4 separate regions of the Homo sapiens genome follow, and all the other regions are linked to region 3. Evidence: promoter capture Hi-C in 16 types of primary human blood cells and fetal thymus (Javierre and others, 2016). All regions are on one chromosome and are shown on one strand. Each heading gives the region's core, a stretch centred on a gene start or on the middle of the fragment in contact. The rest is flanking DNA. Distances are from core to core; before and after follow the strand shown.

Evidence for each region. The method cuts DNA at HindIII sites, captures the fragments that hold promoters and counts their contacts. A CHiCAGO score of 5 or more calls a contact.
Region 1: a fragment that was not itself captured here is called in contact with the fragment with the promoter of SNRPB2 in region 3 in 3 of 17 cell types (non-activated CD4 T cells, activated CD4 T cells and naive CD4 T cells); the score reaches 6.6 in non-activated CD4 T cells.
Region 2: a fragment that was not itself captured here is called in contact with the fragment with the promoter of SNRPB2 in region 3 in 1 of 17 cell types (total CD4 T cells); the score reaches 5.3 in total CD4 T cells.
Region 4: a contact is called between a fragment that was not itself captured here and the fragment with the promoter of SNRPB2 in region 3, in 7 of 17 cell types (total CD8 T cells, non-activated CD4 T cells, fetal thymus and 4 more). The highest score is 8.7, in total CD8 T cells.

The regions. Positions count from the first base shown.
Region 1 is chr20:17,972,328-17,975,239 of GRCh38, reverse strand. The region is part of intron 2 of MGME1 (mitochondrial genome maintenance exonuclease 1); the gene reads right to left. Among named protein-coding and RNA genes, the nearest start is that of MGME1, 4.8 kb to the right of the region's middle. The HindIII fragment of the contact is 5,566 bases long and covers 1-2,912 here.
Region 2 is chr20:18,292,422-18,295,311 of GRCh38, reverse strand. The region is part of intron 1 of ZNF133 (zinc finger protein 133); the gene reads right to left. It also overlaps the pseudogene RN7SKP74. Among named protein-coding and RNA genes, the nearest start is that of ZNF133, 5.3 kb to the right of the region's middle. The HindIII fragment of the contact is 9,924 bases long and covers 1-2,890 here.
Region 3 is chr20:16,728,494-16,731,572 of GRCh38, reverse strand. SNRPB2 (small nuclear ribonucleoprotein polypeptide B2) reads right to left here and starts at 1,547. Exons shown (of 7, transcript NM_003092.5): 1 at 1,409-1,547. RefSeq lists a silencer at 1,090-1,139 and enhancers at 1,290-1,409, 1,460-1,509, 1,568-2,436. The HindIII fragment of the contact is 9,448 bases long and covers 1-1,810 here.
Region 4 is chr20:18,569,514-18,572,374 of GRCh38, reverse strand. It overlaps SMIM26 (small integral membrane protein 26), which reads right to left. Exons shown (of 2, transcript NM_001348957.2): 2 at 2,815-2,861. Among named protein-coding and RNA genes, the nearest start is that of SMIM26, 3.5 kb to the right of the region's middle. The HindIII fragment of the contact is 2,280 bases long and covers 140-2,419 here.

The DNA.
Region 1 (2,912 bases), core at 141-2,640, 1.2 Mb before region 3:
AGACCAAATTTCAGCCTCTTGTGAAACCTAAGAATATACTTTGAAACCAACGGGATTATTAATAGGACGTTAGGTAATAAAATGAATTAAAATTAAGTACTTCTAGGAGAATTGGGCCAAAGTCAAAACTGAAGATCTGGCGGCTACAAGACCACATCCAGTTTATGGTACTATGTGTTTAAGTATCCAATGTAATAAGTTAACTGGCTGTGATAAAATAAAAAAAAATTAGAAATCTAGGGAACTGTGCTTCTGTTTGTAGTTCTTTTTAGACCAAAACTTAATTATGAACATAGGTGGGGGAATCCTTTTACTAACAGGATTAGTGACAAACAAGGAATGGAAAATAAGGCATGCGCAAATGAAAAGTTATGAATTTGATATTATGGAATCTGGAGGGGGAGGAAGAGGAAAATATGTGACATTCTTCTCCTGTATTTTTTTTTTAGTGCTGGAACAGCCTGAAAAATTCAGCTGTGTCTCAATTTTTTTCCCTCATACATTTTTCTATTCTAATATTTAATATTTAACATGTAATATTTTTCTAATTAGCTTTAGATTATTAGAATTCTGATTTATGGCTTGTAGGAGGACACATCTTCTTTCTTCCTAACATTTTATAACATGTGAATACTAGAGAAATTTCATTAGGACACATTAGGACACATTATTTTTCCTGTATGTTCATTTTCTGAGGTCAAAGCCTTACTTTTCGTCCCCAGGTTTCTCCGAAAGAACTGTAGTGTCTGGATTTGTTGGCGTATCCCAGGATCTAACTTGATTTTTGAACTCTCTCCTCATTTTCAGTGCTCGTTGGCCTCCAAGCGCTTGCATAGTAAGCCCCCTCCTCATACACATTTTAAAAAAGGGAACATGGCCGGGCATGGTGGCTTATGCCTATAATCCCAGCACTTTGGGCAGCCAAGGCAGGCGGATTACCTGAGGTCAGGAGTTCAAGACCAGCCTGGCCAACATGGTAAAACCCAGTCTCTACTCAAAATACAAAAATTAGCCAGGTGTGGTGGCGCATGCCTGTAATTCCAGCTACTCTGGAGGCTGAGGCAGGAGAATTGCTTGAACCCAGGAGGCAGAGGTTGCAGTGAGCCAAGATCATGCCACTGCACTCCAGCCTGGGTGACAGAGCAAGACAATCTCAAAAAAAAAAAAAAAAAAAAAAACACACAAAGAGACTCAACAAACACAAGAAATATATTCACTTGTTTCTTAGTAAGAGGAGAGAAAGAGGGGGGACTGTTATGCTAAGCAATGGCCTTGGAGCTTTCAAAACATTATTTAATTTTCAAACCCAACAACCCAGCAAAATAGGGATTGTAAGTTACCCCCATTTTAATGAATGAGGCCCTATCCCACCAGGCAGTGCTGTTAATTTGCCCCAAAGCAAAAAGCTGGACAGGCAGCCTGGCACCAGAATCTGTTTCCAATCTACCACACAGTAGAGCAAAGGAAGCAATCTTGGAAATCACCAATTAGATACTCAGAGAAACAGAGCAGGAAATACACGTGCTTGGAACATGCTTGCAGAGAGACCCACAGAAAAGGCGGAAAACAACTTTACATTTGTCAAGTTTTTTTTTTTTTGAGACAGGGTCTTACTTGTCACCCAGGATGGAGTGTACTGGCTCGATCATTGCTCACTGTAACCTTGAACACCTGGCCTTAAGCAATCCTCCTGTCTCAGCTTCCTCTACAGGCATGTGCCACCACGCCTGGCTAATTCAAAAAAATTTTTTTTTTGTAGAGATGCAATCTCTCTACGTTGCCTAGGCTGGTCTTAAACACCTGGCCTCAAGCAATCGTCCCACCTTGGTCTCCCAGAGTGCTGGGATTACAGGCATGAGCCACTGCACTCGGCCTTCAACTATTTTTTACAAAGATGGAAATGTCAATTCTTTTTTTTTCCAGGCTGGAGTGCAGTGGTATGATCTCGGCTCACTGCAATCTCCACCTCCCAGGTTCAAGCGATTCTCCTGCCTCAGCCTCCGTAGTAGCTGGGATTACAAGTGATCGCTGCGCCCGGCTAATTTTTTTGTATTTTTAGTAGAGATGGGGTTTCGCCATTTTGGCCAGGCTGGTTTTGAACTCCTGACCTCAAGTGATCCGCCTGCTTCGGCCTCCCAAAGTGCTAGGATTACAGGCATGAGCCACTATGCCCAGCTGGAAATGTCAATTCTATCATTAGCAAAAAATGGAATCCCTTCTGAAAAATTATTTGGAGAGTTAAATGAAATTCAACTTAGGAACTAAGTTATTCTACTCCAAATTTACTTGACTCAATTGGAATTATTAACACGTGAAAGACCTACAAGAAATTTATGACTGATGGAATTAAAGCCTAGGAAAAAGAAGTGTATAGCATTCATCTACACACTAGGTTAATGAAGCAGAAGACAAACATGTTAAAAACAGGAAGAAAAAAACTTAGCAAATGCCATGCCAATAGACCATACATTTCTCGCTGCAAACTTACCCCTGGCTAGGTTCTTCATATACACATGATCACAAACATGAAAACCTAGATTACAGGATCCTTTAGACACTAAGGCTCAGAACATTCAACATGATTCAATTTATAAAAATAAAAAATGATCCAAGAATATTCACTGCATGTAGCATCAAGTCTGCTTATTCACTCAAAGTAATGAAAGTGAAATGTTTTCAAGTCCTCGTATATGAAGTGCACTAAAAAAAACCTTCATGCATCTCCAGTATTCTCATGATGGAACTGGCAGGATGGCTAATACTTCAGGATTAAATCAGCGTAGCAAAAAAAAAAAAAAAAAAATTAAAACCTAAACCCCATCCCTTTGTGTGTATTTATACACAAAATATAAATCAGAATAAGTCAGACTTTCTCATTCCCACCAGTCTTCAAAAGATGAACTGATGCTTGG
Region 2 (2,890 bases), core at 120-2,619, 1.6 Mb before region 3:
CAAGGAGGATGACCATCCCACATAGGGGAGGACCAGTCTTCGGTCAAGGGTATACGAGTAGCTGTGCTCCCCTGCTAGAACCTCCCAACAAGCTCTCAAAATAAGAAATAAGAAAGGCAAAGTCACCAAAAAACATCTTCTTAAAAGTCATGTAAGACTACTTTGCAGACCTTTATATAAATAAACGTGTAGACCTAGATGAAGTGAATAACTCTCAAAATTAACTCCAGATGGTCACAAGGAAATTCTATCAAACCTTCAAACCAGGTAGTCCTTATGCTCCAAATACTGTCCCAAAGCATTGAAAACTAAAGGGAAAAGTTCTCATTCATTTTATAAAGCAAGGATACCATGAGGACCTTAACTTGATGACAGTTCAAAAACAGAAAATTATAGACTAATTGTCACTTACAAATATTGAAGCAAAATTCGAATTAAAATGTTAGCAAAAAGACTCCAACATCGCAATAACAAAATATTTCACCATGGCAAAGAAAAATTTACCCAGGATTGCAAGACTGGTTCAATTTTAGGGGATCTTTTATTATAATACACCACAATAATAGATGTAAGGAGAAGTCATGATTGCCTCTCTACATGTAAGATACTCTTTACCAAAACTCAACACCCCTTCTTCAAAAAACAAAACAAAAACTCAAGAATATAGAATTGATGGATTTTTAAAACTTTTTATTTTGTAACAAATTTTAGACTTACAAGGAAGTTGCACAAATATCAATTCCCATACCTTCCACCCAGCTTTCTCTAATGTTAACATCTTAGAAAATGATAGTACAATCATCAAAAGCAGGAAATTAACATTGACACAATACTATAAACTACAGACTTTAATTAAATTTTGCCAGTTTTTCCACCAATGTACTTTTTCTGGTCCAGGATCCAACTGAGGTTTCCACATTGCCTTTAGTTGTCATGGATCTTTAACCTCCTCCAATCTGTGACAGATCCTCTGTCTTTTCTCATCTTTCACGAACTTGGCGCTTTTGAAGGGTATCCCTCAGTTTTGGTTTGTCCGATGTTTTTTCATGATTAGAACGAGTTTTTCACTTCTGGTTAGAATACCTCAGATGTGATGCTGTGTCCTTCAACATATCAATGAGTTCATGATATTGTTATGTCTTTTTACTGGCGATATTAACCTTGATCTTGATCACTTGGTTAAGGGGGTGTCTTCTGAGCTTCTCCATTGTAAAGTCACTACATTTCCCTTTATAATTAATAAATATCTTGAGGGAGATACTTTGAGATTATACAAATATCCTATTTCTCTTCAAACTTTCAGCCACTAATTTTAGCATATATCTGTGGAACCTATCTGCAATAGTTATTACTGTGCTGTTTACCAAATGACAAAGTTCTTTTTCCCCCTTTCATTCTAAATCCATTAATTAGAATTCTTCTGTCAAAGCTGTTCTGTCTCCCCATTTATTTGTATCCAGTTATTTACTTATATCAATATGGATTTATATCTTATCCTATGGGTTATAATACAATAGTATCACTGTTTATTTTGCTGTTAAAATTATTCCAGCTTTTTCCCCCTTTCATTCTAAATCCATTAATTAGAATTCCTCTGTCAGAGCTGTTCTGTCTCCCCATTTATTTATATTCAGTTATTTATTTATATCAGTATGGATTTATATCTTATCCTATGGGTTATAACACAATAGTATCACTGTTTATATTGCTGTTATAATTATTCCAGCTTTAAACATTGGGAGCTCTTCCATTTTGGCCTTGTTCCTGCTTTAACCAATAAATTTGACACAAGTGACACTGTGCCAGTTACAGGCTTAAGTCCTAAGAAGGCCAGACAGCTTTCACTCTTGGGAGCTCTAACGTACCACGTAACGAGTTCAATCCTGCTGGAAGCCCTTACACTACCTGGAGAGAGTGAGGCCTGCTGTCCCAGCTGACCCCAGCCTTCCAGCCAACCCACGAAAATATGTGATGGAACCCACGAAAATATGTCAAATGTGTGACGGAACCATCTTGCATGTTCCAACCCAAATGAGTCCCCAAATGACTGCAGCCATAGCAAGATGCATCACTCACATCTCAGCTGATCACATCCGCTTTGGGTAAACCCAAAGAACTGTGGGAGATTAAAACATAGTTGCTCTCCTAAGCCACTCAGTTTTAGAGTGGTTTGTTGTGTAGCAGTCAATAACCAGAACCCTTGCTGGTTATTGACATACTGCGCCCTCTCTCTTTCAGCTTACCTGATAACAGAAGCATCTTCCTGTCATCCATGGCACTTACTCAGTCCCATGACTACTTCTCTCTACCTTCCATATCAAACCAATTATCAAGGCAAATGGATTCCACCTCTGCCAACTCTCTCAATTCCTCCCCACCCCTACACCAGTTGGAGCACCAGGACAATGGCAAAAGCCTCCTGCCAGTCTCTGTAGACCATTTCCCAACATCCTAGTCTGCCTCATCCATTACTCCTATGGATTATGCCTTCATTTGGCAAGTATTTATTATGCTCCTACTGTGTGATAGGCACTATTTTAAACCCTGGGGATACAGAAGTGAACAAAGACAAAAATCTACCCTCACTGACATGAAAGTCTAGAGGAGAAAGATGGGCCAATTACATGAATAAATAAAATACACACTGTATCAGAAAGTGATGAGTGGCATGAAGAGAAATAAAGCAGGGAAGGAGAAAGGATAGTCACAGAAGTGGGGTGAGGTTTTAGAATTTTAGATAGGGTGATTTGGGAAGGCATCTCTGAGGTGACTGAGTAAAAATCTCAAGGATGTGAAGAGCCCAGGGAATAACTTTGAAAAGAACATCTAGGGCAAGAGAACAGTCAGTGCAAAGGCCCTGATGCAAGGAAGAATCAGGCTGGCATGGCCA
Region 3 (3,079 bases), core at 298-2,797:
GTCAGAAAATGTCAGTTTGGCTGTAGCCTTTATTGTATCTCCAGCACCTACTAGCCCTCCTTTTCATACAGAAGAAGAACAGTTTCTCACATTCAAAACTTGGAGCACCAATACCTAGCCAGATTTTAGTAACACCATTTAATTCAACACATTTATTTTTACACTTACGTTTCACTTATGACACGTGACATTTTCTTTCCACCTCCTCAATGAAATAATTTTAAAATGTAGATTTGAAGAAAAATGACCAAAGTAGCAAATGTACATCCAGTAAAAATCATAAGGTTAGACATTAATGAAGTTTGCCAACTACTTAATGGGTGCACTTACAAAGTCCTTCCATACCTATTAATTTGTATACAGCATCACCAAGCTGTCTGGACTCCAAGGTTATCTCTAACCGACTTGAAAGAAAGGAGCTCAATGACAGCAGTGTGGCATGACGATTAAACTCAGATTCCAGTATCAGCCAGATGTGAATTCAAATCCTATTTATGCTTCTTACTAGCTGTTTGCCTGAGGGAAGTTCCTTAACCTCTCAGGTCCTCATCAGTAAAATAAGAATGGTAACAGAACCTACCCAATAGAACTCAGAAGACTAAATGAATTCTAGCACAGTTCTGCATCAGCGGTAAACACTTAAGAGTAGCTATTATTAACAGCTATTACCAGGTAAGGAACTTGCCTAAGGTCACACAGCTAATAAGCATCAGGCCTGGAAATTCAGCCCTTGCTTTCTCCTCTACACTTGTCTTCCTCATATACCACACTATTGCATTTTTTACATGGTTTTTACTTGCAAATTGTGAACTTGGATGATTTCCTTGTGTGCCCCACATATTCCTTTATCTCACAGTATTTACAGAGCATCCACTGTATGTGAACTGCATTGGATGATTGACAAGGGAAGAGCCTACAAGCAGGGGCTGCACTTGTGCAGGTAACAGGTAAAACGTAACGCTTCTCAAAGCCTTGCGACCCCCTAAATCGAAATCTGGAGAAGGGGCAGGGGTCGCAAAGGAGACGACGAAAGGGAAGTGACTGAGGCAGAGGTCAAAGTGAAGGTAGGGGGACAAAGGGGAGGCTCTTGCAGGGTTTCATGCGAGGTTTGATCGTGGGCTGCGTTGTTACAGGGACACCCTGAATTACCCGCCACCACCAAAAGGGAGCCGCTGGAAGACACCTGAAAGCGCAGTGAACTGTCCACGCCTCGCACGAGCAGACTGACATTAACTATCCTTTACTTCGTACGCGCAAGCCTCCCGCCTCTCCAGACACAAGCACCTTCGCCCAAGGCCCCCTAACGAAGTCCAAGGGAGCTGCCACGCGATGCCCGGCCCCAGAGTCAGTCTCCTCACCCCCAAGCCTGCCCCTCCGAGATCCAAACCCGGGCCAAACGCGTACCCACCCCAGCTTCGCGCTTCGTCCGCTCCCAGCTGCAACAGGGGAGAAAAGGGCCGAGGAGCCAGGAAAACCGAAACAGCGAGGTAGAAGGCGCACGAACCCACCTAAGGCCTACGCCGACTACTGTAAGAACCAAAAGCAGGAAACGGAGCCAGGCACCGGAAGCAACGTAGCCACGCTCCTCAATCGAGCGCCGACAAGTCTAGAAGCCGAGCACAGAGCCGATCGATGCTTCCGGGTCTCTGGCAGCCAGGGCTGGCAATCTCTCTGCGCGTGCGTCTGCCCTGCGGGCAGGAGAAGAGTCCGGAAATGGAAATGGGGAAAGAGAAGGGGGTTGTGAGGACCATGCTGCGAGGGAATAGTGAAGGGGAGTGAATCATTTCCCCTACCACGACCTTGCGAAGCTTTACCCGGCGCAACAGTGCCTTCCACCTTTACAAATCCTATGTAATTTTACAGGCGCTGCCCCTCATGCTATGGGGCAGTTAGTCCTGGTTTCGCCCTTCTTTGGGCTCTAGCTACCCCGGTTTAAAATCACCTTTAGGATAGCCAGTTCCTCCTGCCTCCGAGTCTCCTCTGATTCATGGGGCTCTGCAGGAACTGTCCTCCAACACTGTGCTGATGAACTTGAATCTCAGAGGCTACTCAGTTTGAGGGCCCAGGGCAGACAGAACTGGTGTCTGCCCAATTCTCATCTCTCACCAGATAAGGCAACCATGCTGACTAGAACCCAGTCATCTGTAAGATCATCTGCCTCAATTCACTCGAAAAAATAATTCCCTACCACCCTTCCCACTCTTTTCTTCCAACAAAAGGTCTAGATTTTTCTAGGGTATTCTAAGGAGTTAGTATTTATGCCAAGCTGAATGGGAGTTCCCAAAGTGCATGCATTCATTCATCCATCCATTCATCAGATGTCTGTAAAGCATCACCTGGAATATGAAATGGTTGTTAAGAGTCAACTGGAACCTAATCTTGTACCCTCTGCTTAACTAATCTCTCTGACCTTCACTTTTTTCATCTGTAAAATAGGGATCCTAATAGTACCTCCTTCTAGTTGTTGTAAGCATTAAATGAGCTAAAATAAATGTAAAGTGATTGGCACATTGTCAGACACAATAAATGCTCAAAAATGTTATTTCTGAATTCTGGCTATAACTTGGTTCTACTGGTGAGGCAGGTAGCTGTCAAATAAGTTGGTTTTATCAGCTGGGAATTTTTATTTTTTAAAAACACCCAAAGTTGCAACAACTTGAAAATAATATAAGCTTTTTAAGGGTGGGGTTTTTGTCTGCTCTGTTCACTCAAGTACCCTTAGTAATGGGAAAAGTGACTGATAATTAATATGCATTGGATAATTCAATGAATGACATGGAAAACTAGGCAACAGTAAAACAAATATGCTTTGAACATGCACCTGAGTGTAGAGAATGTTAAGGGATCACAGAAAAGCATCGTTTTATTATATAGATCTAAAACTAGAAGAAATGGCTGAGTGTAGTAGCTCACACCTGTAATCCTAGCATTTGGGGAGGCTGAGACAGGAGGACTGGTTGAGTCCAGGAGTTCAAAATCATCCTGGGCAACATAGTGAGATCTCATCTCTAAAATAAATAAACCAATGAGAAGAAATGTCCTATCTCAGTCAAAGAATTATATCTTTAACAAATTAAAA
Region 4 (2,861 bases), core at 30-2,529, 1.8 Mb before region 3:
TTAAAACAGGGTAAATATTAATTATTGATTCATCAAAAATATGCAATAGTTTTATTGGTTAGTCAGTTGGAAAGGAGGATCAAATCCTCATTAATAAATCCCATACATGATTGATAAATTAAAGATATTAGTAAAAGCTTATTATTTAGAAATGTGGACGTAAATACCAAAAAAAAAAAAAAAAAAACCTAATAGTTGAAAGCAAGGAGGGATAAAGCAGGAACTGTTTTTTTGGTTACAAACTTTTGATCATTATTTAATTTTTTAATGCATTTGTTGCTTTGTTAAAAATATAAAAATTAATTTCAAAAAAGTCATGCTGGCTAATACTGTAGAAACCAATTGGAGGGGACTCCAAGTAGAGACAAAGAGAGTAGGAAGTTGAGGCTACATAAGCAAAGAGGATGGAGGATTTAAGTAAGGTAGTGGTAAAGGGAATGGGAAGGTGGGAATGGAGTGGAATATTTGCAGTAGAAATGATGGGACCTGGTGGCTGGAGGAAGGAGAAGGAACAAGAAGAGGGAGAAGTCTAGAATGATAGGTTCCTAATTTGAGGAACTGAGTACTCTCTGAGAAAGAGAACGGAAGGAAGAGCAGCCTTGTGGGTGATGACAGCAATTTAAGTTATGGACAAAGCTGAGGTGGCTAGATATCCAAGTGGCAATGCTAGATGGACATGGATCTTGAGTTCAGGAGAACGCTGGGCTGAAATAAGAGAATAAATTAGATCTAGCAAAGAAACCCAGCCAAGTCCCAAGGAAAGCTAACCCAAATGTCCCCTTAAGCCCCACAAGTGTATGAATCCTGGGTAGACTGCCAGGTGAGAGTAGAAGTTCAGCTGTTTATCCTCGGTGTGCTCTATTAACAACTCTCACCTGCCAAGTGCCACAGCCCCTCAGCCCTTGCCCTTTGTTTCTCTGGAAGCCCTCATGTTAGGAAATGTCTTCCAAAACGTTCATGCTACTGTTCCCATTTCTCCCATACTTCTGATTCACTTGCTTCTCACCTTCCCCATCTACTGTCGTACACTGCTTCTCATTCATCAGTTTGATGCCAACCAAGATGGTCCACTGGAATACACAGCCAATTGGCACGAATCCATGCTTGACCTGATATCCCTTGGGAAGCTGAGTCTCTGCTACCAGCATCTGGAGCTGTTACTTGTGATTTTGGAATCCTTGTCACTAAGGCTGACTGCACCACAGCACTGCTCAGGCCACCCATAATGGTGGAACTGACACCAATGAGAAATCAAGATGAGGGTCTGAAGGTCATAGTACTGTAGAGGAACCCTGAAATGCCCAATTCCTGTCCTACCACACATCACATCTCTACTCACAGGGTCCCAACAGCTATGAACAGGAAAACACTACCTAAATGAGAAACAAATGCCACTTTATTCATAACTGAGGCAGTACTCTATAATCCATAGGCAGGGATCTGATAAAAACTGAACTGAGTCTCTCGCAAGGGTGGAAGCCAAAGACCAGGTTGAGGAGAGGCTGGTCAGACTTTGGCACTGCACATGGGAGGTAGTATCTTCTTGGGATATTTGTATTACTCCAGAAAGGTGAGAAAAGCAGCTGGTGTGCAATAAGAAAAGCAAGGCCAAGAGCCCAGGCAGGCTCAACAAGTGGCTGCCTGCATTCTGGTCCCAGTGTCAGGCCTTCTGAAGACAACATACTGCTTTTTTTTTTTTTTTTTGAGATGGAATCTCGCTGTCAACAGGCTGGAGTGCAGTGGTGCGATCTCAGCTCACTGCAACCTCCGCCTCCCAGATTCAAGCGATTCTCCTGCCTCAGCCTCCCAAGTAGCTGGGACTACAGGTGCGCGGTGCCATGCCCAGCTAATTTTTGTATTTTTAATAGAGACAGGGTTTCACCATGCTGGCCAAGACGGTCTCGATCTCTTGACCTTGTGATCCGCCCCTCGGCCTCCCAAAGTGCAGGGAGTACAGGCGTGAGCCACCGCTCCTGGCCCATACTCTCTGCTTTAATTCTGAGCTACCAATACACGTTTTTTATAAACACCCACTTTTGATTTAAGCTCACTTGTGTTTGTTGCCTGCAACCAAGAGACCACTGAGGAAACTGGTTCAGCATCAATCATGTCGTCCTGACTGCATTCCCAGCATTAGAATAGCACTGGCCACAGTTGGTGGGTAATCCACACTTGCTGAAGGAATGAGGGGTATGTGCACTGGTCCTAAAGAATAGGTCCAGTCTGTTTAATTCAGAAGTTACAATCAAATTTATATCATACTTACCCAGTACGCAGTAGTACCCAAAGGGCTACTGTGAATCCCAAAGTGAATATGGAGATTTGCTGAAACTAACCTTAAAGCGACCACTAAAGCTGTGCCTAATAGCAACATGAAAGAAATATAAATCTACATTAACTAGTTTCAGGAAATCAAGCTTATGGAAGCTCTATGTGAAATTTCACAGCAATCTTTCACTCATGCAAATACAGAGGAACACCTCTTGAAAATGCAGATAGTAGGCCGGGGACCGTGGCTCACACCTGTAATCCCAGCACTTTGGGAGGCTGAGGCAGGCGGATCACAAGGTCAGGAGATGGAGACCATCCTGGCTAACACGGTGAAACCCTGTCTCCACTGAAAACACAAAAAATTAGCCAGACATGGTGGCAGGCGCCTTTAGTCCCAGCTACTCGGGAGGCTGAGGCAGGAGAATGGCATGAACCTGGGAGGCGGAGCTTGCAGTGAGCCGAGATCGAGCCACTGCACTCCAGCCTGGGTGACACAGCAAGACTCCGTCTCAAAAAAAAAAAAAAAAAAGAAAACGCAGATAGTTTCCTTCAAGAAAATATTTATTGCATATTATTAGTGATTATGTTTT